Regions from separate parts of the Homo sapiens genome. Here regions 2, 3, 4, 5, 6 and 7 are each linked to region 1. Evidence: promoter capture Hi-C in 16 types of primary human blood cells and fetal thymus (Javierre and others, 2016). All regions are on one chromosome and are shown on one strand. The core of a region is centred on a gene start or on the middle of the fragment in contact, and the rest is flanking DNA. Distances in the headings are between cores, read along the strand shown. Region 1 holds the start of YTHDC2 (YTH N6-methyladenosine RNA binding protein C2). Region 2 has its middle 2.4 kb from the start of APC. Region 3 has its middle 38 kb from the start of APC. Region 4 overlaps APC (APC regulator of Wnt signaling pathway). Region 5 has its middle 76 kb from the start of LINC02200. Region 6 overlaps APC (APC regulator of Wnt signaling pathway). Region 7 overlaps APC (APC regulator of Wnt signaling pathway).

The links. Contacts are between HindIII fragments. The CHiCAGO score rates a contact against its expected background, and 5 or more counts as called.
Region 2: a fragment that was not itself captured here is called in contact with the fragment with the promoter of YTHDC2 in region 1 in 4 of 17 cell types (monocytes, total CD8 T cells, naive CD8 T cells and 1 more); the score reaches 6.8 in monocytes.
Region 3: a fragment that was not itself captured here is called in contact with the fragment with the promoter of YTHDC2 in region 1 in 2 of 17 cell types (naive CD8 T cells and total CD4 T cells); the score reaches 5.7 in naive CD8 T cells.
Region 4: a contact is called between a fragment that was not itself captured here and the fragment with the promoter of YTHDC2 in region 1, in 2 of 17 cell types (naive CD4 T cells and activated CD4 T cells). The highest score is 5.4, in naive CD4 T cells.
Region 5: a contact is called between a fragment that was not itself captured here and the fragment with the promoter of YTHDC2 in region 1, in 3 of 17 cell types (total B cells, total CD4 T cells and fetal thymus). The highest score is 7.7, in total B cells.
Region 6: a contact is called between a fragment that was not itself captured here and the fragment with the promoter of YTHDC2 in region 1, in 1 of 17 cell types (total CD4 T cells). The highest score is 5.8, in total CD4 T cells.
Region 7: a fragment that was not itself captured here is called in contact with the fragment with the promoter of YTHDC2 in region 1 in 6 of 17 cell types (fetal thymus, activated CD4 T cells, total CD4 T cells and 3 more); the score reaches 6.1 in fetal thymus.

The regions. Positions count from the first base shown.
Region 1 is chr5:113,512,123-113,515,971 of GRCh38, reverse strand. YTHDC2 (YTH N6-methyladenosine RNA binding protein C2) reads right to left here and starts at 2,278. Exons shown (of 30, transcript NM_022828.5): 1 at 1,890-2,278; 2 at 610-700. The coding sequence starts at 2,076. It overlaps LOC124901046 (a long non-coding RNA gene), which reads left to right and starts at 2,314. Exons shown (of 2, transcript XR_007058905.1): 1 at 2,314-2,541; 2 at 3,032-3,849. RefSeq lists a silencer at 1,793-2,022 and enhancers at 1,975-2,476, 2,473-2,522. The HindIII fragment of the contact is 3,291 bases long and covers 297-3,587 here.
Region 2 is chr5:112,733,858-112,737,171 of GRCh38, reverse strand. It overlaps a transcript of APC not described here. Among named protein-coding and RNA genes, the nearest start is that of APC, 2.4 kb to the left of the region's middle. The HindIII fragment of the contact is 2,763 bases long and covers 1-2,631 here.
Region 3 is chr5:112,698,494-112,701,961 of GRCh38, reverse strand. No RefSeq gene overlaps it. Among named protein-coding and RNA genes, the nearest start is that of APC, 38 kb to the left of the region's middle. The HindIII fragment of the contact is 3,631 bases long and covers 378-3,468 here.
Region 4 is chr5:112,822,843-112,826,656 of GRCh38, reverse strand. All of the region lies in intron 11 of APC (APC regulator of Wnt signaling pathway), which reads right to left. Among named protein-coding and RNA genes, the nearest start is that of SRP19, 37 kb to the left of the region's middle. The HindIII fragment of the contact is 7,562 bases long and covers 1-3,814 here.
Region 5 is chr5:112,550,545-112,553,874 of GRCh38, reverse strand. No RefSeq gene overlaps it. Among named protein-coding and RNA genes, the nearest start is that of LINC02200, 76 kb to the left of the region's middle. The HindIII fragment of the contact is 571 bases long and covers 1,075-1,645 here.
Region 6 is chr5:112,791,249-112,794,582 of GRCh38, reverse strand. It overlaps APC (APC regulator of Wnt signaling pathway), which reads right to left. Exons shown (of 16, transcript NM_000038.6): 7 at 2,054-2,137. Among named protein-coding and RNA genes, the nearest start is that of APC, 55 kb to the right of the region's middle. The HindIII fragment of the contact is 9,096 bases long and covers 1-3,334 here.
Region 7 is chr5:112,768,062-112,771,837 of GRCh38, reverse strand. The region is part of intron 4 of APC (APC regulator of Wnt signaling pathway); the gene reads right to left. Among named protein-coding and RNA genes, the nearest start is that of APC, 32 kb to the right of the region's middle. The HindIII fragment of the contact is 648 bases long and covers 1,560-2,207 here.

The DNA of each region.
Region 1 (3,849 bases), core at 1,029-3,528:
TTTACCAGAAAGGGAAGGACTATTCTTAACAAGAGAAACCACTCTAGACTCTTAATAGAGACAGCACCAGGGGAACCTACATAACCAACCTTGCTAAAAGAACACATATCTTCCATTAGTTTCCCCACATATACCTTCCCACAATTTACTGCACCTACAAGTTCAAAGTCCTTTTCCTTTGTCTTGTCATTTTTTAAATAAATTCATTGTTCTTTATTAAGATGCCACATAAGCCCCATGTTTGAGTTACTATCGAGTTCTCCCCTATGTATGCATGATGCATGTCTTAATAAGCTTATGTTTTTCTCTTGTTAATATGTCTTTTATCAGTCTAATTTGCAGGGTCCCAGCCAAGGAACCTAAGCTGGGTAGAAGAAAAAGCATTTTCCTAGGGAAAAACAAAACAAAACAAAAAAGGGGGGAAGAGGTAGACAGAGGGAAGAGGAAAGAGTTGAATTTGGTACAGACCTGAATCTTTTATCTACATATGATACAATTAAGAATGTGAAGTTAAAACAGTAATAAGTACTTAAATGTACTCAGAAACGTTTCTCCCTTTTTTGGGCAAATAATCTTTTTTAAAAAAAATAAGAAAAGCTACCAGCTTACCCTTTACTTTTAGAGACCAAACCAAGAGACTGACTGAGTCGATGAATAAAGGCTCTTTCAGTACTGGTCAAAGAAGAAGGAAATTCCATTTCTACACGGAAAAAAAACAAAGTAGTAAAATTTGTAGATAGGCAATTTTCTCTCAAGTAAAACACACAGATACAAAATATGAAAAACATACATAGACAATCAAATTTATTATACTTTATTTGAGGTTAACTTTATATTTCATATTCTATTTATGTAAATTAATAAAATTAAGATATTTTATTAATTCAATAACTACTGAATGTCTATCAGAATTCTGATATTAATAAAAAGACAGCTATGTATTAAACCTAAATGTGATAAAGGCCTCTGATATTCACCAAAAACGACTCCTCTTACTTGTTCTGGAATTTTGAGTTGGTATAATGACTGAACATATTTAACTTGGTCCCTACTTGTTTAGTTAACAAAATGTTTATTTTCTTCAATGATGAGATATGTTCAAATATTATGAATTCTCAACATGAAACTCCATTGTCTTTGCTTTCAAAACTGTACAGAATTCGTATTTCACTATTTCAGAGGGATTTGTTATATATTGCTGAGGCTTTCTCTTTTTTTAATGTGAATTTAGAATCTCTCTGTCTAGAACATTCCCCGTTTTGGACTATAAGATTCCAGAGTAAGAGGTCCCCTAACTAAGCCAGCAGGTCCGAATGAGCCCTCAACAGACTGCACAGGTCACCGCAGGTCAGTTGCTGGTTCTGCATTATATGACCCAAGACAAGTGGCTATCTAACCTCAAGAGGTGTGGAAGATGCTTCGTGTGCCAAACAAGTTTAATTTAAGTGGGTAGCGTGATGCTTCAGGGTCCAAACGTATTGCTGGTGCATTTATTTATATGTTTGATTTCTTTCTGCTCTTCTACATCTGTAGCTTAAACGTGCCACAATTAGGTGACACCCCCTTAAAAAGGGTTAGGGCTAACCAATATCTGAAACACGGTGGCTTAACCGCCCAAGGCTGCTGAAAGACGCGGGGGAAAAACACTTTCAGCTAGGGAGCAAAGTGCCCATAACCCCATTGATCCGCAGAGCACCTCGCATTCCACCGCAGGGCCAACAGCCGCGTTCCAGACCCGGGTGCCGCCGCTGAGGCCCGCCCCGGACGGTGGCCCGGGTCTTCCCTCCCTCTTCGGAGGCACCCCCATCACTCGGTGGGCCGCCGTTTGGGGGGCGCTGGGGTGAGGGGGGTATCCTGACTGCCAGCATGGTCCCTGTCCGGAACCTCACCTCTCTGGTCCCCGTATCGGAAGCGCTCCAGCGCGATATTGACTGCGATCTTCACCTCCTCATCAATGCGAATGTCCTTCAGCCCCTTGGCCCGGCCGCCGCCCCCAGGGCCACAAGGCGAGGGGCCGCCGCCTCCGCCACCGCCAGGAGCCGGCTGCCGCGGGGAGACGCTGCTCGGCCTGGACATTGCCCTGAAGAGATGGTCTCTCCGCACGGGAGCGGCCAGGCCTGCTAGCTGACAGCCAATGACAAAGACCGTGGGAATCCGGGGCCACTACCGGGAAGCTCCGGAGACGGCCTGTGTTGGGCTGAGGTCACCAGAAAGGCCTCAGTCACCGCCACAGCAGAAGTGAAGCCTGCGCCATTGATATCACGGCCAGGCGAGGAGCGCGGGCGTAATGACGTCACCAGGGCCGGCGCCCGTGACCTCAGCGCGGCCGCCGCTGCGCGCCTAAAGGAGGCTGTCTGCGGAGCTATGGTGCGGTTCTCTTCCCGCGCCGCCCACCAAGGGTCGCTCCTCATCTTCTTATTCACTCACTTGCTACTTCGTTTAGTCCTTCATTAATTCCTGCAGTAAGCATGTATGGGCTTCTACTGTGGACCTGGCATTATGCCACGCCTTCGATGTACATTGGAGAACCAGAGAGCCAAGGTTCCTACCTTCATGGAGTTTATATTTTAGTGGGAGGAGGGTTGCCAGATTTAGCAAATAAAAATACAGAATGCTTAATAATTTGCATTTCAGATAAACGAATAATTTTTAGTGTATATATTTCCCATGCAATATTTGGAAAAATATCATAAAAAATACATATACTAAAGAATGAGCCACTGTTGTGTGTCTTGCATTCTTCCCTTTTCTGAATGGGAGATTTTAATGCAAGTATGCCACCCTTGCTCTATCACGCTACACAGGGTAGCTGAGTGGGGGCAGGTATGTAGTACATATTTACATAGTTCATGAGTTACCTGGCAATGAGGATATACATCTGGATCTAATAAAGAGGACTGTGTATCAACAACAGATCCTGGATGCAGTGACTAGATAGAATTCCAGGTGTCTGGGGAGGGTATATGTGTATTCTGTGTGTGGTAAGAAGGGGGCGGAATATTTGGTGACAAGAAGTATCTTTTCTTCCTAGGCATTATATTTCCCAACTCTCCTGCAGTTAGCTGGGGGCCACATGGCTGAGTTCCGGCCATTGGAATGTTGCTGGAACTGATGTATACCACTTCCAGGATTGGTCTATAACACCTTCCTTGAATCTTCCCTTCTCTGTCTTTCCTGGTCTTCTGGAAGTTCTTAGACAACGGTGGAACCACTAGATAGATAACAGGTTCCCGATTCCCTGAACGAGTGTGATAGAGTGTCCTCACCAACCCACATTGGAATATGACATGGGTAAGAAATAATTCTTAGTTGTGGTAAACTGCTGAGATTTGGGAAGATTTTTTTTTGTAACATTATGGTAAATTGTTGAATTCATCAAAGGTATGGCCTTTGATGAATCACACATTCCTCTGTTCACACCCTTGTATTCTTCCTTCCCACATGGACTCTGTCTTTGGCTATGTAACTTGCTTTGGCCATTGGGACATCAGCAAATACGAGATAAGCAGGGGCTTGAAAGGTGTTTGTGCATTAAGGCTTAGCCTGTTTTGCTGCTGAGAATTCTTCTTCCACAAAGTAAAGAAGCTTAGGCTAGCCCACTGACAACTATGGCCCAATCATCCACCAGCACCAAGGGCAAGACGTGAAAAAGGCCATAATGGAAAGTCTAGTCTTAGAAAAGCTGCTGGATGACCACAACTCTGTAAGCAACCCAAAGCAAGATTAGCAAAACCACCTAGCTAAACATAGTCCAAACTGTTGACCCACAGAACACATAAACAAATAAAATGAATATTGCTGTAAGCCACTAAGTTTTAGGTTGGGTTTCTTACACAGCAGTAGATAACT
Region 2 (3,314 bases), core at 1-2,500, 780 kb after region 1:
GACACATACATAGAAGTGCTGTTAGCTACTACAAATCTGAGGCTTTAATGTAGTATTTTAATGCAAATTCTACATTGCATTTAAATCGAACCAGGTGATGCTTAAATTCCCAATTTTATGAGGTTGAAGGACAAAATCCAAACTGTCAAGAATATATAAAGTTAAACTTAAATTCTGGTTTAAATGGGGGGAAACCAGTTTCTATTATCTATTTAAAATTTAAAAGGATACTATACTTCAAGTTTTCTTTGTTTGTTTTTTGAGATAGAGTCTTGCTCTGTCACCAGGCGAGTGCAGTGGTGCAATCTCCGCTCACTGCAACCTCCACCTCCCGGGTTCAAGCGATTCTCCTGCCTCAGCCTCCCAAGTAGCTGGGACTACAGGCACGTGCCATCATGCCCAGCTAAGTTTTGTATTTTTAGTAGAGACGGGGTTTCACCATGCTGGCCAGGATGGTCTCAATCTCCTGACCTTGTGATCCGCCCACCTCGGTCCCTCCAAGTACTGGGATTACATGCGTGAGCCACTGTGCCCGGCCTAAACTTAAAGTTTTTAAATGAAGCATATTATAATCGTTTCTTAATTTTCAAATAGTATGAAAAGAAGCAAGCTATTAAATAGCATATTTGAGGCAATTCCATTTGATTAAAAAATGTATATATTAGAAAAGCAATAGACACACAACAAAATGTCCATAGAGGTTATTCCTGGAAAGTGAGATTATGGAGCTATTTCTGCTGTCCTTTCGTGCTTTGTTTTTTTTCTCTTTCATTAGTCCCTGTGTTACAATGCCTGATATACAGCAAATACACCCCAAATATTTATTTAACAAGTGAGTTATTTCCACACTGATGGCATACTACTGTTCTATTAAAAGTTTAAATATATTTAGAAACAATTTCCCTTCATATTTGAAATAAATAAAAGCATGTAAATCAATTTGATTATATTCTAAATAACTCTCTTTTGAGAATGACTTCATTTTACAAAAGGCTTTCAAAATCCTCTTACTGAAAGCACATGATTCACTGCACAGGACTTATTTACAAGTCATTTTTTGTGACAAATTCAGAATAGGTAATTTCTCATAAGGCCTAGAACTTCCAGAAGGAAAACAGTCTTTCAAAACAAAGAATACCTTTTAAAAGGTCCTCAAAAGAACTTCTTAGTACCCTAAGACACAATTGTAAGCCTATTACTCTTGACTCAGACTATGATACAAGCTATTATTTAGTAAACCAGTTTGTAGCCAAAATGTTTGTCTAAATTTTTACTGCATGTATCATAGATATTCATCAGTGACTTAAATGACATAGTTGTAAAGAAAGCTACGACCATTATATGTTCATTAGTCACTATGCTTCAAATCTAAAAGAAAGCCAAGTTAAACATTTTGTATTTTATGTTGCCAATTACTCAGTAATATTTTTCTTATTTTTAGAGATTCCACAAAAGTTTAATTTGAATTTTTAAAACTGCTTAGCTATTTTAAAACTATAATTAAATATAGATATATAATCAAAGTATACTGGGCCAAATTTCAGCATGGAAAATTACTGAAGCATTACCTTGTCTTATCAAGTTTGCACATAGCTCAGAATAAAGCTCCTGCCATCTCTATTTGATTGAAGATGTTATTTACACTACATATACATATATATATATATATATGTATGCATTAAAAATATTTTCTGGGCAGGGTGCAGTGGCTCATGCCTATAATCCCAGGAATTTGGGAGGCCGAGGTGGCCAGTTCACTTGAGCTCAGGAGTTGGAGACCAGCATGGGCAACATGGCGAAACCTCATTTCTACCAAGAATACAAAAAAATTAGCCAGCTGTGGTGACACGCGCCTGTGGTCCTAGCTACTCTAGAGGCTGAGGTGGGAGGATCACTTGAACCCAGGAGGCAGAGGTTGCAGTGAGCCGAGATCTCGCCATTGTACTCCAGCCTGTGCAACAGAGACCATGTCTCAAAAGATATATATATTTTTTCTGATCAAAATGAAACAGAAATAAATTGTGTAACACTGTTTAAAGACCGCACTGACAAACATATCTCTTATTTTCAGTATCAGTGTTTGTTATAACCAGCTTCATTGCTTTTAGTAAATGGTTTCATATGTAAATGTTGTAAATATGAACATATAATTCAACTTAAAAAACCCTTCTGAACCTTCTGCAGCTACAAAAAAAAATGACTAAATAGGATTAATAGGATTCTTAATGTCTTAAATATTACATTCCCCAGCTACTTGGGAGGCTGAGGCATGAGAATCTCTTGGACCTGGGAGGTGGGGGCTGCAGTGAGCCGAGATCACACCACTGTACTCCAGCCTCAGTGACAAAGCAAGACTCTATCTCAAAAAAAAAAAAAAACACACACACACACACAAGAAAACCCTTTCCATTCCATTTTTACCTAGGCACTTTTGGCCTAATTTAAGACTTTTGGTTTAAAAAACTGACAAGAAGAATATTGACAATATTAACTAGTGTAAAATGAATTAAAATTAGTGCTCCTTTCAGTCGCCTTAATTGACTCTGGTGCTTTACTGATAAACTTAATCGTCTCTCTTTACCGAAGACCTTAGACATAGAATAGAGTTATGCCTACAGATATCAACAAGCTTTTTTTTTCTTTCAAAATAATAATTATGCATTGAAAAAACAGTTACTAGTATAAATTTAACTTCTACAGGTACTAAGGCATCAAATAAAGCTCAGATTTAGAAACCTTTCAGTGTTCGGATCTTATAGTTAGTTATGGTACGATGGAAAAGCCTAAGAAGAGATAAGTTAGATGTGTGCCTAACTGGTTCTGTATTTTTCATGGGATACGAGAACGAGGTGAAATGTTACAATGGCAATGAGATTTTCAGTGATGTATAAACTAAGTGGGAGATCTTGACCCACGTGTCTATCTTTATCTATATGTCTGTCTGTCTATCCATCCACCTAACCATCTCCCATTTTTTCAGGGACGAGGTCTTGCTCTGTCACCCAGGCTGGAGTGCAGTGGCATAAGCACAGCTCCCTGTAACCTCGAACTCCTAACCTCAGGTGATCCTCCTGCCTTGGCCTCGCAAGGTGCTGTGATTACAGACGTGAGCAGCCACACAGGACTGGGAGATATATTCATAGTCTTCTACGGGCAAGACTTACCAGTATGTTCTATGTTACCTCAAGGAGTGAGTCTCAAAAGAAGTGTTCCTAGCATCTAATAGAATCTTAATTAATTTTCCTCTCACCAATATCCTCTCTAATCAGCAAACACCAAAATAGTTCTTCACACTTTTGCTCAAGAACATTCCA
Region 3 (3,468 bases), core at 944-3,443, 810 kb after region 1:
TCTCCTTTAGGTAGTATTACATTGCCATGTGTTGGCCTCATGTCTTGTCTTCTTTACTATAATAGATACATACATGAGGGCATAGGCCATATCTTATTCATATTTGTATTTATCTCCTACAATTTCTTGAATTGAAAGTGTCCAAACAAACAGAAGCTGGATGATGAGTACCATGAGTATTCATTATATTATTCTTACTACTTTTGTGTATGCTTGGAATTTTTCATAATAAAAAGTACTTTTAAAAAGACATCCAAGAAACTTCTGCTGCTAGATGGGGGGCTAAGTACCAGTGTTTACTTCCTTCTCCTCTGTATATTCCACTAAAATATCAGTAGCAGGACTTAATTTTTGATGAAACTAATGAATGTTAAGCTTCAAGGCTCTTCACTTGCGTGGGCCCTTTTCAAGGTCCTGGAAAATGCCTTAGCAATATGTTCATAAGTTTTTGTAAAATCTGCAAAAGTAGTATCTCTTAATCACAATTGGTTAAGGGCATTTCTCTTTCCACTTTGACTTACTGTCTGTCACAGGTCTGTTTTGTCAGGTGGTATTAGAGTAGCTGTAATAACTTTGGGTTCCAGCTAAGGGGAAGTTGAGTTTAAGAGACATTTTTAAAAATTTGGTCAGAGGATATTTATGTGATTCATAGTTATGTCTGTGTCTAGTATCTTATTGATAACTATCTTAGTGGAGTAATAACTTCCAGGAGTACTTCTACAGTCCAGTGCCTGACTCTGTCTGCATTCTAACACAATGGGGCAGGACCAGAGTTTGTGTTGTAACATGAACATGTTCTGTGGCACCTGAACCCGAAGTATGTATACAGCCAGAAGTTAGTCTATAGAAAATTCTTCCAAACTTTATAGCACATATGGAAAATGAACGTGTAGGTAACACGGAAAAAGAAAAGACATGATGGAAATTTTCCCAAATGAGATAACAATCTTAAGAAATCACAAGCCATTACTAATAACAAGTTGTCAAGCTGAAAAAAATCTAAACTATCAATAATAAAAATTTTGTGATTAACCATGTTAGAAGAAAGACAATTATATTTCTATTCAATCTATTAAATTATAATAAAACAAAATCACCACTTAAAGAGCATCTAGAAAAAAATTTAGGACAAAACTACAGAGGTATGTCAGGCAGTAAAATAATGCACTTGTGTTATTTTTCCAGGTTTTGTGATGCTTGTGGATTTTGTGTCAGCATTCTAGATTTATTTTTTCATTCTAAAGAAATATTTACTTTTTCACCTAAATTTATATTCAAACGTTGTATTTTTTTTTTCAAATTCAATGCCTTATCATGGGCCTCTGCAATTACAGTTAGAGACATCAACATCCCTCTCTCAGTAATTGATAGAACTACTAGGCAGAAAATCAGCAAATACATAGAAGACTTGAACAACAGAATTAATCAATAGGATCTAACTGACATTAATACAACACTCAGTAGAATACACTTTTTTTTTTTAAAGCATCCATGACACACCACATCTTTGGCCAGAAAACAAAACTATGCAGAATATGTCCTCTGAGCATAATGAAATTTAATTAGTAATCAATGAGAGAAAGGCAATGGGAGAATCTCGATACACTTGAAAATTAAATGACACACTTCTTTTTTTTTTTTTTTGAGACGGAGTTTTGCTCTTGTCGCCCAGGCTGGAGTGCAGTGGCACGATCTTGGCTCACTGCAACCTCCGCCTCTCGGGTTCAAGCGATTCTCCTGCCTCAGCCTCTCGAGTAGCTGGGATTACAAGCGCCCACCACCACACCCGGCTGATTTTTGTATTTTCAGTAGTGACAAGGTTTCACCATGTTGGCCAGGCTTGTCTCGAACTCCTGACCTCAAGTGATCTGCCCACCTTGGCCTCCCAAAGTGCTGGGATTACAGGCGTAAGCCACTGTGCCTGGGCTAAATGACACAATTCTAAATAATACCTCAGCAAAGAGGAAGTCTCAAAGGAAAGTTTTAGAAAATATACAGAACTGAATGGAAATGTAAATACAACATATCAAAATTGGTGGAATGAAGCTAAGGTGGTGCTGAGAGGGAAATTCATAGCACTAAATGACTACATTCAAAAAAATAAAATGATTACCTTAGAAAAGATCCCAAATTAATCACCTAAGTTTCTACCTCAAGAAAAATGAAGAGCAAAATAAACTCAAAAAAAGCAAAAGGAAGGAAATAATAAAGATAAAAGCAGAAATCAATGAAATTGAAAAGAATAACAATAGGGAAATCAATAGAACATGAAGCTGGTTGATAAACCTCTAGCAAGCCTGACAAAATAAAAAGAGAGGGGGCACAAATTACCAATATCAGTCATGAAACAGGATATAATTATAATTCTTGCAGCTATTAAAAGAATAAAAGGGAATACCATGGACACATGTACACTTATAAATTAAACAACTTTAGAAGAAATGGACCAATTTTTGAAAACCGTAAATGACCAAAGCTCAAACAAGATGAAACAGAATAGTCCTATAACCATGAAATAAATTGAACTGCCACTAAAACGCTCTGGAAAAAGAAATCTCCAAACCCAGATGGTTTCACTGGAGAACTCTACCAAACATTCTGAGAAGAATAAGCTCTGATTTTAAACATTCTATCCTAGAGAATAGAAGAAGAAGGACTACTTCTCTATTCACTTTATGAGGCCAGTATTACTTTGATACCCAAACTAGACAAAAACAGTAGAATAAAAGGAAATTACAGACCAATATTTCTCATAAACTTAGACACAGAAATCCTCAACGAAACATTGTTTTTTCTTGGAATCCATGGGGAATTGGTTTCAAGCTCCTGAGAATACCAAATTCCACAGATACTTGTTTCTTATATAAAATGGCACAGTATTTGCATATAATCCAGGCATATCCTCTGTATATGTTAAATCACCTCTAGATGACTTTATAGACATGCTCTGCTTAACGACAGGAATACATTCTGAGAAATGCGTTTGGTGATTTTGTTATTGTGCAAACATCATAGCATGTACTTACACAAGCCTAGATGGTATAGCCTAGGACACACATAGGATATATGATCTAGCTTATTGCTCCTAGGCTACATACTTATACAACAGGTTACTGCACTGAATACCGTAGGTAATGGTAACACAATGGTAGGTGTGTGTATATTTAAACATAGAAAAGTTACAGCAAAAATATAGAATGATAATTTTAGGAAATCATCGTTGTATATGTGGTCTGTTATTGACTAAAATATTGTTATGCACTTCATGATTGTAATACCTAATACAGGATAGATGCTATGTAACTTGTTGTTATACTATATTGGTTTTTATTTTTATTATTTTCATTGTTATATTGTTATTTTTATTGTTCTTTTTCTAAATATTTGTGATCTGCAGTTGGTTGAATTTATGGATGCAGAACCCACAGATATGGAGGATTTTGAGTGTACTAGAAAATCAAACCCAAT
Region 4 (3,814 bases), core at 1,315-3,814, 690 kb after region 1:
GGAATACGGATGCCTTTAAATGAAACTGTGCATGAAGAAAAACTAAAAAGTTTTGTTTTTTTTTTTTTTTACAAAAAATGATCATCTGTTCAATTTATTAAGTTATATAAAACTACTGATTTGTGTTTTTCAAAACATTTCTTACTTCTCGTTGATAATATCAAATATTAACTATACTAAGATTTAGTATTTTCTTTCCCCTGATTCTTTCCACTGAAAATGCTAAACAATGCCCACAATGGCCAACAATAGGAAGTCAAGGAGAAAACAAAGGTAAAGGAATGGGAAAGACACAAAGGAAGCAGTTAAAAAAAAAGTGAAGCAAAATGGTGAGGAAGTGAACAAAAGAGAAAAATGCATGTGGAGGCTATTCAAAATATAATTCATCAAATATTAATCATCACGGGACTCAGAAAGAAAAAGATGAATATAAACAGGCAATTCTTGGATACTACAAGTCTAATTAGGTCATTCATCTGCAAGACAGCCAGTACGTTAATATTTTTAATAAGTGATCTGGGAAGTTCAATATGCAGAAGAATCTGCAAGTTTGTAAAACAAAGTTCTGTCGTGGGTCAAGAATTCCAAGCCAAGGGATTTAAATGTAGGAAGATTTATGCAAAACTTTATTACTAGCAGGAATGACAGACATGTTTGAATGTAGGTAAGTGAAAATTAATTTGGTTAAAGAAAATCCAAATCATATTTAGGAAAATTTTCCTCCATTCACCTGCAACAGTGGCAAAATACAGAGACAGTGAACAAAAATCAGTCACTGTCTTTATGAAGAGCGTACAGATTGGAGCAAAGATAGATGAACTATGTAGAACCACAGGGTGATATAATAGGTGGACTTAACTTAGACCTGGGATTAGGCTCCATAAGAAAAAGGCTGAGGAAATAATCTTTTAATGTTTAAGTTGAAACGTAAAGGATGAATGTGTATCTTTCTTTTTATTTTTATTTTGGTAGAGACAGGGTGCCACTATGTTGCCCGAGCTGGTTGCGAACTCCTAGGTTCAAGTGATTCTCCTGCCTCGGCCTCCCAAAGTGCTGGGATTACAGGCATGAGCCATCAGGTCTGGCCAGATGAATGCGTATCTAACAAGGGTGGGGCAGGAAGAAGAAAGATGCGTTCTAAGCAAAGGAAACAGCATGTGAAAGGGCCCCTGGGCCTGAAATATTTAACAGCAAGGAGAGGGCCACAAAATGAGGCTATAAACATGGGTAGATGCCGGATCACATAAGACTTTATGTGCCACATTAAAGATTTTACGCAGAAAAAGGAATAATTAGATGCACACTCTAAACAGATTACTATGGTTTCAGTGAACAAAATCGACTATGAGTGGAAATGGGAAGAGAAGTAAGACAAAGTATTGTAGAACAGGAGAGACGATGGTGGCTTGGACTGGGGATGAAGAGAAGAGTGATGACATAAGATACTTTTAAGTAGCAGAATTAAAGCAGTCAGTTGCTATTTGCAGGGGATAAGGATGGCATCGTGAATGATTTCCAAGATTTTGAAATTTGAGCAACTGGATTGGAATTTCTGAGAAAAGGAAACTGGGAAAAGATAAGAGATTCAGGGATGGGAAAGATTACGAATTCAGTTTGTGACAGTTGAGTTAGAAGTGTCTAAAATACCACCTAAGGGAAGATGTCACATAGTCAGTTCAATAATGTGTCTAAAACTCAGGGAAAAAACTCAAATTGAGCTGTAAATTTGAAAACAAAAACAAAAACTATAACAGAAGCATAGAGAGAAAGGAAAAGAGCCTAGGGCAGAGCTTCAAGGAATTCCACCATTTTACACTTGGGTAAAAGAAAAGGAGCCTGTAAAAGAACTGAGAATTTTGACCCATGAAATTGACAGGGAAGACCTTAAGACTTGGCCTGGTATACTAATGAGATCCCCAAGATGTCGAGTATTTTAAAGCAGAGGATCAATACCAAAACAAAACAAACTATGCCTTTTGTCTGTATAAAATCTTGCCTGGTGTGACAATAACTGGGATACTTTCTTAAGAAAGATAAAATGCACCTAAAGAAGATGCCAAGAAGGCACTACATGATCAAAGAGTTGAGTACTCTTGTATGGAAAAACTAAAAATCTTAGGATTTGATACTGAAAATAAAGATTAAATAAGAATGTGGCAGATATCAACAGATTCAGGAAGAACATGGCTAATAAAAAAAGAACATTCAAAAAAATTTAGACTATCAGATAAAAGAGGAAGTGCTTTTTGATTTCAGGCAAATGAAAAGATTTCAGAGAATTTTGAGGCACAGAATAGAATTCATAGGTTAAACCTATAAATGGATTTGCTAAAATATGCAAATTCATGACTGGATTGATACAATTAAAAACTGGTTGCTCTAAGAAAAATCAGGATGTTTCATGGTAATGCAAAGATGATGAACATGTCCTTCTACAATTTTCTTGGTGCCTGTTAGAAAACAGTGGTCTAAATAGACCGGACTATTGCCCAATAGGGTAAAACTACCGATAGTAGAGCACCAACAGACTCAGGTGACATTCAACAGAATCCTTAATTTAGACTCTTATGAACAAAAGAAAGACTGATAATTTTAAAAAGCATATTGCTTTTGTTTTATTTGGTTTAGATAGTCACCATTAGCATGAAATGCCTTGTTCTAAAATAAATATCACAGGCTCAACAAGAATATTCTACTGGTGTTTCACAAAATTTCCCGAACATAAGAATCAGCCAGGCCACTTATCACATTGATTCCTAGGCCCTTCCCCTGGAGATTCTGTTTGCTACAGTGCCAGAAAATCCAGTTTGACGAGTGCCTCTGGGTGATCATTATGATTTAGGTATTTTGTGAAACACTAATGCAAATAAACTGTGAGTTCCCTGAAAGCCAGGACCAGGTCTTAATCATTATAAAAATCTAGTGCCTAGCACAGTTTCTGGGGTAGATTAGGGAATCAATAAACATATATCATGGAAATTATATTCTAAAACTTCTAATACTAATAAGTGCAAACTTAAATGACTGATAGCTGTAGAATCTTCATATATGTACAAATGACCATCCCAGCTGACTGAACTAAGGAATTCCCCTTTACCTATTTGGGATTTCTTTTCTCCTTATCCCTTACTGCCAAAACCTTGTGCTGTCTTGTACTATTATCTCCCCGCAATCCACACACCCTAATCCTCCTTTTGCCCCAGTGCAAATCTGGAGGTGAGGAGTGAGAAGAAGGTAATCCCCTGTGGCTATGTCCCCAGCAGTCACACCCCCAGAGGCCCCATCCTGCTCCTCACCTGAAAGCCCCTGCCCTAGCTCCTGTGATGAAATGCCCCGGGTAGCCTTCCTACCTGAAGAAGGAAGAGGAACAAATACTGAGTCTAGGTTTTATTTTGAAATCCAGATGATTAATGTCTCAGTCCTAGTCTACAATCCATTGGAATACAGGAACATTTACAGAATAACTTTTGAGGTATCTTAAAACTGAATGTTTTCCTGTTTATTCATTATTTTTTATCCCCTTCCTGTTATGATTAGCATTTTAAAAAATTTAAAATGTTCACAAATGCTGAGATTGTATTAACGAGGGGAGAATTCATAAGATTAACTGAGAATCCACAGGAGACCAGGGGGAGGAAAGAGAATCAGGTAGGCCAATTGCTACACCACTAGGAAGGAAAGCATGGCCAGAGGGCAGGCCTGAAATCTTAAGGTGCAGAGCCTCCCAAAGTGATGACTCTGAAGGAGACAATACTTTTGGCTGTTCAGGTTCTCTGTGTAAGAGTCTCATGACTTCATCACTTTTAAGATAAAT
Region 5 (3,330 bases), core at 111-2,610, 960 kb after region 1:
GCCCTGGAATCTCACTTTGTGAGGCAGATTGGATCTGCTCAAGGCACCCAGCTGAAAAGGGCTTTGAAGTCCCTCATTTTGGGGGTCCAGTTTTACATCAAGGCCAAATAGAAAACCAGGTGAATGGATGCAATTGAACTTTCAGAGATGAGTTGATACGAGAGTCACCTCTACAGGACTTTCCCCTCTCCTTCCTTCTTTCCTGCCCCTTCAAATTCCCATACAGTTAAAATAAATAAATGAAAAGATAGGTGAGAAAGCAAGTGGAATCTAGGTGATAGGCATCTAGAGCTGTGCACTGTAGTTATTTCACCTTCTCTATACACTTGAAATTTTCATAAATGTTAGAAAATTGACTAAAGCAGAGTTCATACATGAGAGACCCACAGACCATGTCAAGCCCACAGACACAATTTACTTGGCAGCTCAGCGATATTTTTTATTAAATCATTTGCAAACATTTAAAGAGGAGATCGCACAAAAAAATCTGGATTTCCAGTTTCTGTAGACAAATCAGGAGATCTTACAGCATTGGCCCCACATTCCTGCATGGAAACAGTTGACTGGAGCTGGGTGGCAGCTGTTCCCTTTCGATGGGGCACATCCTCTCCTCTTGGATGCAGACCCTGCAACATATACATTCTTCACTTATGTTACTTGTATGGGCCAGTTTCTCAGGTAATGACATTCATCCAGAACAACCTCAAAAAGGGGAAAAAGTCATAGAAAAGCAGCTTATCGGTCTGTGAGCACTTGCGTGCCCACATGCAGTTATGTGGGAAAATGCAGTCCTACACCTTTGTTTTGTGTAGTCAGGTGGCAAGGCCTCCTCTTCCCTTCTACTCCAGCCTGCTGAGATGCCAGTCAGTGCCCCACCACAAAGCTAAGTAAGCAGAGCGGCTCATAAACAACTCTGGGTATGACTGCGTGGACAGGAAAGTCTTGCTTCAGGCTAACTGAGCCAGCCTTCATTTACTACAGAATGTTTGCCCTCTGACTAAAATGCCTTAGTTAGTGCAAGAGATAGACCAAGTCTCCTGTCAAATTGTCACCATCATTGTTTATCATAAAGCTTCATTGTTTGGTGCCAGGCAAAAAAGAGAGCCACACAGAACTCAGGTGTCCTAGAGCCTAAATTTGATCTGTGCATATCACAGTGGGAAATTCTACCTCTTTTGTTTTTCCTTTCTGGCCTAAAGGAGGTTTGTGGATTGAAATATTTTCTCAGAGGAAAATGGGTACTGGCCACAGGGTTCAGTGTTTCCAAAATGTTGCCTCTGCCTCTGCCTCTGCCTTTTCCTTGCACGGATCCACACTCTAAAGGATGCCTTCGTTGGGGTGTGCTGGGCTTCTGAGCTCTGTTCTGGGCTGAGAGGTCCTAGGTTGGAGCAATGTGAGTGTTGTCAGGAGCAGAATACATCCTCGGCGATAACAGCGAAGGTGAACTCGAGTCCCTTCGCCCTTTGGACTCTTCCTCCACTGCTTTCTATCGAACTTAGAATACAATTCATCTCCTTCCTTGGCCAACCAGTCCTTATGTGGTCTGAACCCGGATGGTCTTCCAGCCTCATTTTATCCCACCTTTCCCTCCCCTCTCCATGCTCTGGCTACACTGGCTTCTTTCTATTCTGAAACACCCAAAGCTTGTCCTTACCCAGGGCTGCTGCACTTGCTCTTCGCTCTGCCTGGACCACTCTTCCCCCAGCCCTTGGTCTGGCTGGCTCCTTCTCATCTGGGCTTCAGGTCACATGCCAGCTTCTCTAAGGCCTTTCCTGGCACTGTTCTCTTCCCCTCATGCCCTATTTCTATTCCATTACGGTGTTATTTTTCATTGAAATTATTACCTAAAATTATTTTCGTTTACTTGGTTAGTATCTGTCTCCTCTACTTCAGTGCAAGCTCCACAAAAGCAAGGACCTTGTCTCTTGTTCACCAGAGAATCCCCGCTGCCTGAAATAAACGTTTAATCAATGAATGTCCACACCCAGAGCGGGAGGGAATTCTAACAGTTGTGAGGCTGCTGATGTTCCTTCCAGTGAATGCTATGAAAAACTCAAGTCTATATACATTTAATCCTCCCCTAATTTGGATCTGCTTTTAAGAATGGCCTTTGGCCGTTTGTAACATCTGGATGCCAATATTAAAATAAAACTGGTGAAGAAGAAGGCTGAGATTTGATGGTTCCATGTATTTCCTTAAATATTATGGTTCTGTAAAATGGCTTTGATTGGTGACACAAAAGGCAAGGTTGCCCCCTAGTGTTTAGATGTGTAGATCTGTGTCACCAGCAATACCTTTTAAAAAACTGTGTGTATAGAAAGCCACACTTCCACAGCCTGCTGTAATATAGACCAGAATTTACCAAGGAAGCACAATTTCCCACAAAGTATCTCCTAAGAGACTCCAAATGGATACTTTCCATTCTCATGGGCTTCTGCCAAAAGTTGAGCTACTGTCTTTGTTAGCTACTAAAGAAATCTGAAACAACCAAGAGAGCTGTCTAGCTGAGTTTCACCAGATAGCACATTCTCCAGACTGTTTTCTTAAATGTCACCTTCCTTTCCCAGGCAAAGTAGGCTGATTATAAAGTAAGTAAAATCAATGTTAAAGAAAATAGCAACCCACCATCTCAACTGTTTTCCCCTTGGCCACAGAGGAATTTATCCTTAAAGTTCAGGAAGACATAAACCATTCAGAATCTTAAGTGGATGCAACCAAGCACAAGATTTCCCTGCACTGAAAAATCTTGGTAGTTTTAGGTGAGTATTTTTCATTCCTGAGCCATGCTGAAGACTGGTGAGACAAAGGAAAGCTGTAAAAAGTGGCTGGATGAGGGTGGCACCAGGGGAAACCATTTAATAAAGAGCCTGGGTTATTGGCTCCTACAGTATCACTCTGGGAAACTAGGTTATTAGAAATGATGGAAAATGGGTGGTGAGGTGAGCTGGTGGCTGGGAATAACCATGGCAACCAAACTATCCATTTTCTTATTTCGCTTTCCTTGAGACTAGAAATAGATCAAGTGTAGGTCACTGCAAACAAGTCCAGTGATGGTTTACATCTCCTGCAACAGCTTTTGCTGGCCTTTTTTGTGAGCATGTGAAGAAATGCTACCCTACTTTTGAAAAAATGTCATATATCTCTTGTCCCGACCACCTAGTTTGTGTTCTGTATATTGTGTGAATATGGTGTTCTATTTTTACTTTAAAATATGTTTTTTAAGAGTAAATAAGAAATAGTTGTGGAATTACAAAGCCAGAAGTAGAATGCTTTTTGGAGACCACCTACTCAATGCAGGAATTTTTTTTTGTCATGCTGAGAGATGGGCTC
Region 6 (3,334 bases), core at 476-2,975, 720 kb after region 1:
TGGTGGCTTAGGGACACCCAAAACTTGTGGCTGGCGTTTGAAGTGGACAGTCTTGTGACTGACTTTGTCTTTTACTTGTGGAGCTGACTCTAACTCTGGGTAGTTAGGATCAAAATTGAACCCAACTGGAGGATATACAGTGGTGTCAAAGAACTGGGGTCAAAACATAGCTGCACATATTTTCTTTTAAAAGGTTTAACAGGGGTCAGGCGCAGTGGCTCACGCCTGTAATCCCACACTTTGGAAGGCCAAGACAGGCAGATTGCTTGAGCTCAGGAGTTCGAGACCAGCCTGGGCAACATGGCAAAACCTCGTCTCTACAAAAAATACAAAAATTAGTCAGGCATGGTGGCACATGAGCTACTCGGGGGCTGAGGTGGGAAGATCACTTGAACCCAGGAAGCAGAGGTTGCAGTGAGCCGAGATTGCGCCACTGCACTCCAGCCTGGGTGACAGAAACTTTTTAAAGAGACTTACTTACATGGCAGGATTCACCAACAAAACAACCCAGCTAGATCATCCTACCTTTTTTTTTTTTTTAAGAGACTTAGTTCCACGTCTCTTAAAAAAAGAAAAGTTTTAAGAAATGCCTACCCTACTTCCCAGTTTCCAGTGCTGTTATTTACAAATGTAAAGGCATTTGCATTCCTGTTCCTTTATGTGAAATTTGTTTTCTCTTCCTTCTCCAGAAGGTTGTTAGAATATTCTTTTTATCCCCAGTGATTTGAAATTTCCTCATGATGTGTCTTAGTGTAGGATTATTCTTATACATGATGTTAGATACTGGAGAGACCAATTTTTTGGAAAACTAAGCCCCTTGTTAAAATTTCTGAGAAATTTTGATTTATTTCTCTAATTTCCTGTCTCCAGTTTCTCCATTTTCTTTTTGGAACTCCTTTTATTTGGATATTGAACCTTCCTAGAATGATCTATACTGTCTGGTAGTTAGTGTCCACTCATATTTAAGAGCGGGCTATCTATGAAAAAGTTAAATGAAGCTCTATGCCTGAAGAATGGATTTTGTCAACTATATTACCCTATAGGGTGATCTAGGTGGGTTGTTTTGTTGGGTGAATTTTTCCATGTAAGTCTCTTTAAGTTTTTTTTCTTGGGTTAGTCACATTCTTCTGATTTTTTTTCTCCCTTTTTAATGTTCTCTCAGCAGAATCAGGGTTAGTCACATTCCTTATAGAAGTTCCTTCCAGAAACTTGCCTGGAGATTATAAGCCTGGATGCCAGTGGGGGTTTCAGCATTCAGTAGGTAAATTTTCATGTAATTCAGTGTTTCGTATGATACCCTCACGTTCAATTAAACAAGGTTGACCCCTAACCAAAGACCCTTTGTTTACCCTCTCCACCTCTTCAGAGGAGAAAGCTCTCATCTTTTGCTGGGATTGGAAAGGAGCAGTCACCTAGCTGTACAGGGTTGTAGGGAGGTTCTGGAAAGTCCATCTGCTTCTTAACAGATTTTCAAATATCTTCCTGCTTTTAACCCTTTTTTACTCTCACACCCAGAGGTATCTAGTTGCTTCATGACTTTTCATTCCTATTGCTGCCTTATGGGTCAACCCTCTCTGATATGCTAGAATGTTATCACTTGTTTACCTGCTTTCCAGCTCCACGGATTTTACTGTGGTCACCTTCCCTGGTCTTAATGCCTCTTTCATTGTATCCTTTTACTATCACTTTAATGGGGTTTCTGGAGTAAACACAGGTAAATGTGTATTATCAATTCTTACTATGGATTATCTATAAAAAAGTTTACTTACTGGATAGTAGCCAAATTAAGTTAACTATTTGATTATATGTAAACTGACAGCTAAAGTAAGGTATCTATATTTACAGTTTTATAAATTTTAACTGCCTAAAAGTTAGATAAAATCAAAATAGTCCAAATCTTTGATAATTTAATTTCACGAAAAAAATTACGGTATTTAAATTCTCTGAAAGAACATCTATATTTCAATGGTGTCACATTAAATTATACATGTTTTCTTTTCTCAGAATAACTACCTATTTTTATACCCACAAACAAGAAAGGCAATTTACTAACCTCTGCTTCTGTTGCTTGGGACTGTAAAAGCTGTCGTATACGAAGTATGTCCTTTTCGATTTGCTGAATTCTGGCTATTCTTCGCTAAAATAAAACAAGAAACCTAATTAGTTATGTTTTTATTAATAATATTAATAGAAATAATCATACTATGGCTACCACTTAAAAGCTCAGGGTTATGTCAAATCATTCTCATTTAAAAAGCTAGACATATAAATATATTCACCCTTTAATAACAAATTGGGGTCAGTTCAATTTTTCTTTTCTTTTTTTCTTTTTTTTTCGAGACAGAGTCTCGCTCTGTTGCCCTGGCTGGAGTGCAGTGGCATAATCTCAGCTCACCGCAACCTCCGCCTTCCGGGTTCAAGTGATTCTTTTGCCTCAGGCTCCCGAGTAGCTGGGACTACAGGCGCGCACCACCACGCCCAGCTAATTTTTGTATTTTTAGTAGCGATGGGGTTTCACCATACTGGCCAGGCTGGTCTCGAAGTCCTGACCTTGTGATCCGCCTGCCTCGGCTTCCCAAAGTGCTGTGGGCTTACAGGCGTGAGCCACTGTGCCCGGCCCTGGGTCAGTTCAATTTTTTGTAATACACTGGACTTTATTCAACAGATGTCTAGATCTGCTTAGTAAAACTGGAAATACAAGTCATATATCAAATTGTATGTTGCATGAATTATGAAAATTGACACAATACACATTGTGAAAATTTATTCTCAAAAAATATTTCAACAAAGAGAAAATTACACCTGCATTTAATCTTTTATATTAATCGAGACATTAATACAATATAATAAATTTATATAAACATAGTATACCAGTAAAGGGAAAGAACATCTGATTTGTTTTAATAAATATCAGGGTCCCCAACCTTTTTGGCACCAGGGACTGGTTTCGTGGAAGAAATTTGTCTACTGACTGGGGCAGGGGAAGTCTCAGGATAAAACTGCTCCACCTCAGGTCCTCAGGCATTAGATAAGATTCTCATAAGGAGCCCGCAACCTAGATCCCTCACATGTGCAGTTCACAAGCGGGTTCATGCTCCTAATGCAGCCACTGATGGTGGCAGGAGGCAGGGCTCAGGTGGTAATGCTTGCTCGTGGCCTGGGGGCTGGGGACCCCTGGTTTAAACAGTAGGCCCAACTCTTCCCCAAAGTTACTTCTGTCATAAGTTAGTAGTATTTTTCAGCCTTTCCAAGTACCTAACTGTGGCTAAACATTATTTTTTCTCCAACACTAGGATCATAAAGAGGATAGAGCTTTTGCTTTTCCACTATATGG
Region 7 (3,776 bases), core at 634-3,133, 740 kb after region 1:
GGAAGAAGATATAAACTATGACTTTAAGAAGGTCTAGAAAGAAAGAACAGAAAAAACTAAAGGGGAAAATCATCAAAGAAGTAATATAACAGAAAAAAGCTGAATAAATAAATTTCCAGATCAAAAGGGTACAGTAAATATTCAGCATGATGAATGAGGAAAATATGCATACCAAAACATTCAAAAGCTTCCAAAGAGGAAAAATGGCCATCTACAAAGGAATAAGATTCAGACTGGTATCAAATTTCTCATTGGTACCTTGATAATGAAGAAAAATGAGTTTGAACCTAAACCTACCTGAACTATCAATCAAGTGTGAGAGCAAAATAAGTATACTATCACACAAGCAAGAAATCAATTTATCTCTCTCCAACACAGCAAGAGTCAAGAACACCCAAACATATTAGACCTAAATGGGAAGCATAATGACAACAGTGGTATGACAGTCTTGTAGCAGGCTCAGGAAGCAAATGGTACAAATTAGATCAGAAAAATTCATTGGCTCCAATAAAAATTTATTTATGAATAAAATGAAACTAGATCCTCATATTATCATAAAGGCACAAGTTTCTGCTCCCGAAAACATAAAAGAAAGGCAATTAGAAACTTGAGACAAAAACAAAGAGCTATATAAGAAAGACACAGTCCAAATAGCATCATCTTCCTTTAAACAGCACAAAGAGTATGATATTCTATCAATAGGGAGCAAAAATTAATTCTGGCATACTACTGACTCACAGTGTCCAACGACTACAGAGTCCTAAAAAAACCCACTTATTTCACATCAACATTATGCTTAATTTACAGAATAAAAAAACATGAAGACTTAAATATATATAGTATGATGTAACTGTTAACAGTCTTAACAAAATAAAGGTAAACACACAGTTGCCAAATCTTATACAGCGGGGCTTCAGTAGACACAGTCACTCACAGGAAAGAACAAGAAATAGAACTTATATATATGTATGTGTATTTGCTTATGTGTATATGTATACAAATTCGACCAAAGAATTGGTACAGAATTAAAAACTGGATGGATAATTGAGTGAATTTAACAAATCTTCATCTTTCAGAGTGGTGAGTCAGTAAGTCATGTCCAATACTAGCAATATAAACATATTATTTAGAGTTATAGAAGTAACTATCTCATGGGAAATGAGACTGAACATAGCAAAGGAATACTGATACTTTTCATTTATGATGCTTTATAAAGCTAAACTAGTGATACTAATGATCAGTGAGAGTTGAGAACCTTCTAACAACACCATGTTGATACCTCTTTCTCTCCAGATAAAGCAACTTTTTATAGAGTGTAATAAAGCCTGAATTAGAAGTTGGGCCATATTTTGGGAGAAAAACGAAAACAAAAACAAGACGTCTTTTCTACAGTAACAACAGAAAAGGCTAAAGCACCTTTAAATATTTTTAAAAAGAAATGTATTTTCCACTTGGAGTTAAAAGTCAGAATACTAGCTTAAAGTTACTTACAGTGGTATTATATAATAAATAAAACATGGGGATCATTGCATTTAAGTCTTTGAACAGAGAAATAAGCTTTTCCTAGATTTAGATGCAAAGAACTCTGGAAGACTAGCAAGAAATAATGTCAAGACAGAAACTAAGAACATTTTTATTACAAGTATTCCTTACCACTTACAGCTGTATTTGTTAGGTTTACTAGTATTTGCAGTAAAACTTATTTCAAAAATTAATATTTTTCTCTGAAATTCCCTCTCTCTGCTAATAAAATCAGGACTTTGCCTACATAAAGCAAAGTAAGGAAAAGAAAGCAAGTAAGGAAAGGTTAGTATGCATGCCCTCTGCCTCTTAATAGAGCTCAAAGGGGAAAAAGAGATGGAAGATTATGGACCCAAGTTCACTCCTTATTTTTCAAGATGGTGTTTCAATAGTCTAGGATCAATGTATGAAACAGAGACTTATGTAAACTTAAGAAATAAAAGACAGTGAAACATCATTTCTCGTCCAGATAATTATCCCTATTTTTATAAATGGGCATATATGAAACTGGAGAGAAAGTTATAAAAGGTCTTCTGCCTCTCAGGGAGATATGCTGGGCATTTCCTATATACTAATATTCAATTTTCACAACAATGCCACAAAGTAGAACCATATCTTTATCTTACAGAAGAAAATGGTACAAAAATTTAATGACTTAACCAAGGTCACAGAGATAATATGAAGCTTTTATATATTTTACCATTTTCTGAATGTCTAATAGAACTTTTAGAAATATAAAGATAATAAAGATATTCCTTAATATGTGCATTAAGGAATCTTTTAGGGGACATAAAACATTTGACGAAGTTCCTGATAATGATCTATATTTTGGTATCTGCAGTGAGATAATGTTAACTTTAGGAAGAGAAGAATTAATACACTAGCTGTGAAAAATCAGAACTCATTCCATACATCAAGCAATTTTTTTTCAGGTATTAAAACTTATACATTAAGAAATGTTTTGTTGGCCAGGCGCAGTGGCTCATGCCTGTAATCCCAAAACTTTGGGAGGCCAAGGCAGGCAGATCACCTGAGGTCAGGAGATCGAGACCAGCCTGGCCAACATGGTGAAATCCCATCTCTACTAAAAATACAAAAATTAGCCGGACGCGGTGGGGCGTGCCTGTAATCCCAGCTACCCGGGAGGCTGAGACATGAGAATTGCTTGAACCTAGGAGGTGGAGGTTGCAGGAGCCAAGATTGCGCCACTGCACTCTAGCCTGGGCGACAGGAAGACTCTTATCTCAAAAAAAAAAAAAAAAAAAAGAAGAAAAAAAAGAAAAATTTACTTTTTACTAACAGAAGTAAAAAGTAAATACTAGAGGCTAGGAAACACAGAGGGAAAGAAGAGATAAAGAGAGATTTGTTAAAGAATATAAAATTACAGCTAGATAGGAGGAATAAGTTCTAGTGTTCTACACTACTGTATAGGACTGTGTTCTACACTACTGTATAAGACTGTGTTCTACGCTACTGTACAGGACTGTGTTCTACGCTACTGTACAGGACTGTGTTCTACGCTACTGTACAGGACTGTGTTCTACGCTACTGTACAGGACTGTGTTCTACGCTACTGTACAGGGCTGTGTTCTACGCTACCATAGGATGAGCACAGTTAACAATATTACATAGTTTCAAATAGCTAGATGGTAGACAGTGAATGTTCCTAACACGAAGAAATAATAAATGTCTGAGATGACAGATATGCTAACCTGATTGCAATAAATTATATGTGTAGAAACATCACTATGTACCCCATGAAATGTACAATTATTATTTATAAAGTAAAAAAAAAAAAAAAAAGAAGTATTTCATTTGTGGCCACTTGTAGTGGGCCTTCCATAATGAAAAGAGTCATCTTTTACTGAATCTAGTAGTTACTGAATATACTTCAATAGATAATCAGAAATTCAATAAAAATCCAGTTACTACTTTTTTTCTTTTTTTTTTTTTGGTAAAGAGACAGAGTCTTGGCCAAGTGTAGTGCCTCATGCCTGTAATCCCAGCACTTTAGAAGGCCGAGGCAGGGGGGAATCACCTAAGGTCATGAGTTTGAGACTAGCCTGACCAACATGGTGAAACACTGTCTCTACTCAAAATATAAAATTAGCCAGGCGTGGTGGCACATGCCTGTAATCCCAGCTACTTGGGAGACTGAAGCAGAAGAATCGCTTGAACCTGGGAGGCAGAGGTTGCAGTGAGCCGAGATTGTGCCATTGCAATCCAGCCTGGGCAACAAAAGTGAAACTGCATCT